Linked DNA regions of Homo sapiens: region 2 is linked to region 1. Evidence: promoter capture Hi-C in human tissues and cell types (Jung and others, 2019). All regions are on one chromosome and are shown on one strand. Each heading gives the region's core, a stretch centred on a gene start or on the middle of the fragment in contact. The rest is flanking DNA. Distances are from core to core; before and after follow the strand shown. Region 1 holds the start of ZDHHC21 (zDHHC palmitoyltransferase 21). Region 2 has its middle 130 kb from the start of SNORD137.

Evidence for each region. The method cuts DNA at HindIII sites, captures the fragments that hold promoters and counts their contacts. A contact is called where the count stands out against the background at its distance.
Region 2: a fragment that was not itself captured here is called in contact with the fragment with the promoter of ZDHHC21 in region 1 in 1 of the 25 tissues and cell types used here (dorsolateral prefrontal cortex).

What each region holds. Positions count from the first base shown.
Region 1 is chr9:14,692,182-14,695,271 of GRCh38, forward strand. ZDHHC21 (zDHHC palmitoyltransferase 21) reads right to left here and starts at 1,251. Exons shown (of 10, transcript NM_178566.6): 1 at 1,048-1,251. RefSeq lists silencers at 893-1,032, 1,113-1,182 and an enhancer at 1,256-1,756. The HindIII fragment of the contact is 8,706 bases long and covers 1-3,090 here.
Region 2 is chr9:13,097,441-13,100,530 of GRCh38, forward strand. No RefSeq gene overlaps it. Among named protein-coding and RNA genes, the nearest start is that of SNORD137, 130 kb to the left of the region's middle. The HindIII fragment of the contact is 3,261 bases long and covers 1-3,090 here.

The DNA.
Region 1 (3,090 bases), core at 1-2,500:
AATCTAAAGAGTTGGAAGAATTTAATATTACACCAAAAGCCTTTTAATCCAGGAATGGCGCATACTAAGCAGTCATCAAATGGTGACTGTTATTAATATTATTCTTACCACAAGGAAAGCAGTGAATTTTTAAAAGTGCATATATTAGCATAGTAGGCTGAGGACCTATTTAACACATCTTTTTAAATTGCACTTAATTATCCTTAGTCGCCTTTGGACTGTAACTTTACAATATAATTTATGACCCGCCCACAATGACCTTGATTTTTTTTTCTCTTCTACTTTTAGAGACTGCTATATTGCAATATTTTAAAGTAATAATTGGTCATGTCCTCTCAGCCCTGGTGATACAGACATCCACCCTGACTCTCAAGGGATCTTAAAATGTGACCCACATATAGCTTGAAAAAGACCGTAACTTAAATGGACTCTGCAGTTACAATCCAGCGACCTGTTACAGTGAACAGTAACAAGTGCAAACTGCTGCCATCCATAAGCCATTTTCCGAAAACCTCTTTGGATCAAGAGGAGAGGAGTGAGAAGGTCAATAAAGGAGCAAACTGTTTGTCCTCTCTGCAGCTTCACACCAGAAGTCTGGAATGAATGAAAAGCTCTGGAATAGCACAGAGAAACCCGGGATCCCAGTGCAGGTCTCCAGACGGGGGTGCGGGGAGAGAAACTGTAGTTTACAAGCGAGAAACTCAGGATACAGATTTAAAATAAATAAATAAATAACTAGCCAACATCGTCTCGACTAGAGCAGGAACCCCCCACCCCCAGTTGAGGGAGGAGCACTTAGCAAGGGGCTGTAGCTCTAGCAGAAGACGCTCTGAAAAAGGCCAGGCCTGGGGCGGGGAGGCACCGAGAAACCCCCGGGTTCCAAACAGAGCAGGTGCAGGGGGCGTGCAGGAACAGGTGAGGGCGTCCCGGCGCGGAGGAGCGGCGGGCGGGCCCGGCAGAGCGGAGCGGGGGCCGGGGATGGGGGTGGGGGTGCGGATGGGGATGGGGGTGGGGGCGGCCGCTTCGCCCCCGCGCCTGCACACTCACCGTCGCCGCTGGCTCGCCTCTCGCTGCCGCCGCTCTCCCGACCGCCAGCAGCTCTTTCCCCTCCTCCTGCCGCGCCACCTCCGCCTCCTCCGGCGCCGCCGCCCAGGCCGGGCCGCTCTCCCCTTCCGCTTCCGGGAGCCTGAGGGCCTGGACCGGCCGAGTGGGTGTCCGCATGCCCGCGCGCCCGCGTGGGGAGGGACGACTGCCGCCGTCGCCGTCTCGCTTAGCTCCCGGGAGCCGCGATGGGAGCCGCTGAGGGCCGAAACTCCTGCAATCGCGCCGCAGCCCCAGAGCCGCGGACCCAGGCAGACCGCACTCTCCAGAGCGCTTGCACCTGGCGCGCCTGGGCGCCTCTGCCCCTCCCCAGCCCTACTTGAGCCGTCCTTCTCATTGTCCCCATATCCTCACTGCTCACCTCTCCCGAGAGACAGGATGGGGGCCTTAGCTTAAAAGATTGCATGTATCCTTTCTTCGGGGGATGTGGCCAGCAGGCCTCTCTCCCCGCAGGTGTTCTGGGATGTCCCATGGTACCTTGCTTCAAAGCGCGGTCTGCAGCATCAGCATCCTCTGGGAACTCACAATCTTTGAAATGCACAATTTCAGGCCTGCTGAATCAGTACATGCACTTCAGCAAGATCACCAGGTGACTCCTGGGGTGCACCGTAAAGATGGAAAAGCATTGCACTGTAGTGCATGGTCTCGTCCACTTCAGACCCTCTATTGGGTTGCCTCAGACATCCCAGGATATTTCCTGTTCCTGTCCTCAACCTAAATCCACACCCAAACAATCTTTTCTTATATTTTGGGAGACCTCCAAAAGTTTCCTGCTTTCCCATCCCTGCAAAAGCCGACAACTTTTGGACTCAGCGATGCAAGTAATCCACCTCTCAGTCTAACTTGGTATCTTCACCAAACACCAGAGATCTACTAACTTTCCCACCTCACTCCGGCTGAACAGTATTTGGGGAAGGTTAAACCGTTTGCAGTAATGTGGAGCTAGATCTTTCTGCCCACGTGCCACAGGAGGAGACAGTGTGTTGGTGGAAGAAATATTACCTGTTGTATAAAATCTGTATTCCTTATAAGATGTGCTTAAAAGCCCTCCACAGACACATCCCTACCTACCTCTCCAGTCTTAGCTCCAACTAATTTGGTTCATTTCCCCATTCTAGAATGCCCTGCTCTCTGATGATCTTAACCCTATCCAGATTTGAGAGTGGAAATCTTGCCAAACCAGAGTTCTCTCACCACTGCCCTTATATAGTGCACATTGTTGCCTGTTTGGGGCCTCATATTACCTTGTATTGCTAAGGATTTTTAAACATGTTGTGTCCTGGTTTCTGAACTAATTATAAACACCTTGTGACCTTAAAAACTTTGGTCAGTGGTTATCAAAGTGGGATCCCTAGACCAGCAGCATCGGTATCACCTGTCAACTTGTGAGAAATCCATATTCTTTTGCCCCATCCCAGATCTACTGTAGTAGAAACTGTTTAGGTGTAGCCCAGCAATCCGTGATGTAACAAGCCTTTTAGGTGATCCTAATACACACTCAAGTTTTAGAATTACTGACCTAGATTACTAGATATTCCCAAAAGAACCCAGTGGTAGGAATTGATTTACCCATAAGCAGATTTTATTGCCTTTCAGGTTAACAAATACACTCCCCGATATATGCATAGCGAGGTTGAAAGACTAGTCACGATTGCTTTTGATAGAATTACCTTTATTTTTCATAAATCATTTGATGTAGTAGGATTTTTGTAACTTTCTCTGTTTGAAAAGAAGGAGATATTTCATATAAACAATCACTTTGAAGGAAGAGGAAATGTGGAATCCTCCCACCGGAATCCAGCTACCTGATTGCGTATTCAATGTGAATCCCTTCTACCCAAATCCAGCTACCTGATTGCATATTAAATGTGGACTCCTCCCTACCCGAATCCAGCTACCAGAATTGCATATTAAATGTAAAATCCCCCCCCCACCCAAATCCAGCTACCCAATTGCATATTAAAAGTAGAATCCCCTCCACCTGAATCC
Region 2 (3,090 bases), core at 281-2,780, 1.6 Mb before region 1:
CAACCAGAGTTTCTAATCTGTCTAGTATTCAGAATTCCTATACATAAAGTTCTATTAACTTTTTCTAGTAACTTTTCTTTTTCATTTGAAAGTTGAAACATAGATAAGCCTCCTAAGTATCATGGGAAGTACATCACATCAAAAAAATATGGTCCATGGTTCACAAAGAAAAAGTTACCAATGATTTTCACACCTCAGAACTTCCCATCACAATTTTGACATGGACACATATATCTTAGCATAGCAAATGATAACTTCCACACAGGTGGCTCCGCACATATATTCTTTTGGATCTCAATTCCTTAATGTTTCAAAGTGATTCTTGGCCCTTCACTGTCTTCCAATATTTGAAATGTATGATTTTTAAAATAAATATTCATAAAACATTTTACTAGCAAGGAGATTGAGACTGGTTTAGCAACTTAACTCATCCAATGTGCAAACCTAAAAATTGGGCTTACGTGTACTAATTGTCTGCTGTCCAGTTCAGAGAGGCATCACTCTTGCATGACACCCATAGAAAAGCATGCTACAGAATCCCAAATAGAAGCTCTATTTTCCCAACCCTAACACAAACCTTCAACAGCATGAGCTTTCAGAGCCAGGTCTTTGTAGACCATGAAGCTTATTTTATGGTCAAATGGGATCATCCCTTGGCAGAAGTCCTCTTTAGAAGCAAACTTCCTTTACTTGACTGTTTAAAATAATGTGAAAACTTAACCATTAGAGGTATATACAATTTCCACCTTACATTTCTCCAATTTATTATCAACCATTTGAGAAATAATAACGAATATGAATGAAAACAAGCATTTTGCCAGCAGTATGATCTCACCAACTTCCTTCTAGAATACTGTTTAGTCTACCAAGCTAAGTTCTTCTTTTTCCCTCCTTTTGAAGAGGGACTGTACATAAAAAGGGCATTAAAGTGGAATCTACTTATCCTAATTAACACAGATGACTGGAGAGGAGGGATTATATGAGTGATGGATATTTTGCAATTTCCCATTATCTTGAAAACTAGATACTTGGCTTATTATACAAGTGCTGGGGTTTTGATTGATAAAACCTCTCACTAGGTTTAAATATCTCCCATCCAAAACATCTCTTATTTAAAATGTTAAGGAGTGGCACATTCACTTCACCAATCAATGAGACCTTGCAGCTCTCAATTCTCCTAGAATCCTTTTTGTTTTTAGCTTCCCTTTCTGGCAGAAATTATGAGGAAATCTCTAGAATAAGAAAGTAGGAAGGCACTTTACAAGTTTATTTTGAAAGTCGGGATACAAATTCATAGTAGTGTTAGAACACTCTTTCAGATGGCCCCCCACAATTCCACTATATGTATCACCACAGCTCTGAAGTTACACTGACTTTCGCAGTGGTAACAATATTTCTAGCATTTATCAGGTGCTATCATATGCAACCACCTCATCTCATTTGATACTAAGAGTGCTGTGAGGAAAAATGTTATTATTTCCATTTTACCAACAAAGCAGGCAGAGGCTCAGAGAAGTCAGTTGCCTGCTAATCAGGAGCCCAGCCAGGTTACGAACTCAGGGCCCTGAGCTCTGAAGGCCCATGCCCTTCACACTACATTTCAGAGAAATCTAGAGTTCCTTCCTTATATGACATTTATCAGCTATGATTTACATTAAATGCAAGAGCAAGACAGGCAAAGTGAAGGATAAAACATTGATAACTTTGCTATATGAATAACTGTAATGTACAGAAAGGAAAAGCTTTAGAAAAAATTAACTACTGTACACCAAAAATAGAAATTCTAAGGCCCCCCAACCATCTGAATGGACTCCTCCTCTCAGCCAAGGGCATTCCAAAGTTAACCTGAATAATGAGTTCAGGCCATGATAAGAAGGGGTAGCCAGACATGCCTTATTATACCCTCCTCCCTTTTGGAATTACTGATAGAACAGATTAGGTCTGACAAGAAACATTTACAATCTATTCTCTCTGAAGCCTGCTACCTAGAAACTTCATCTTTATGAGAAAACCCTGGCCTACACAACCCCTTATCATAAGCCAAACATGCCTTTCTGTTAATAACTCTTTCAACCAGTGGCCAATCACAAAATCTTTGAATTTGCCTATGACTTGGAAGCTCCAGCTTCCACTTGTCCCCCATTTCCAGACCAAACCAACATACATCTTACATGTATTGATTTATATCTCATGTCTCCCTAAAATATATAAAGCCAAACTGTACCCTGACCACCTTGGGCACATGTTCTCAGGATCTCCTGAGGGCTGTGTCATGAGCCATGGTCACTCATATTTGGCTCAGAATAAATCTCAAATATTTTACAGAGTTTGACTCTTTTGATCAACACCATTGAATAGAAGCAATAATAAGCAGACACTTACAAATAAATGTGGTTGACAACTATTACAAATGTAAAGTTTAAATGTGAAACTTTTCTCACAGTACTTTGGGAGGCAAAGGCGGGTGGATTGCTTGAGCCCAGGAGGAGTTCGAGACCAGCCTGGGCAAATGTGAAACCCTGTCTCTACCAAAAAAAAAAAAAAAAAAAAAAAGCAAAAGTTAGCCTGGTGTGGTGGCTTGCACCTGTAGTCCTAGCTAGCTACTCGGGAGGCTGAGGTGTGAGAATTGCATGGGAGGTGCAGGTTGCAGTGAGCCAAGATCACACCACTGCACTTCAGCCTGAGTGAGAATGTGAGACCCTGTCTCACAAACAAAAACAACAAAAACAAATGTACATTTTCTTTCTTAACCCTAGGATTAAACAGTAAAAGATGAGGAAACTGTATGTTCTTTAGGCTAAAAATAAGCCACTTGTTCTTAAAGATCAACCAGCATCCTTTATTACAAACACCTGACACCACTCTCCTATTTTGATGAAAACTCTGAAAAGTAATCATAGTTTACTGGTCCTTTATTTTTAAAAATGTAGGTAATAAATACATGTGTATTTATAAGAAATGTAATAGGAAAGTGTAACAAATATTAGAAATAGGATTTTAAAAATCATTCTGAAGCTAACAGCAGTAGTTGCTGGTTATACTTTTAATTGCATAGGTATCCAAATGCAACAAAATGAAGTTCATGGGAAT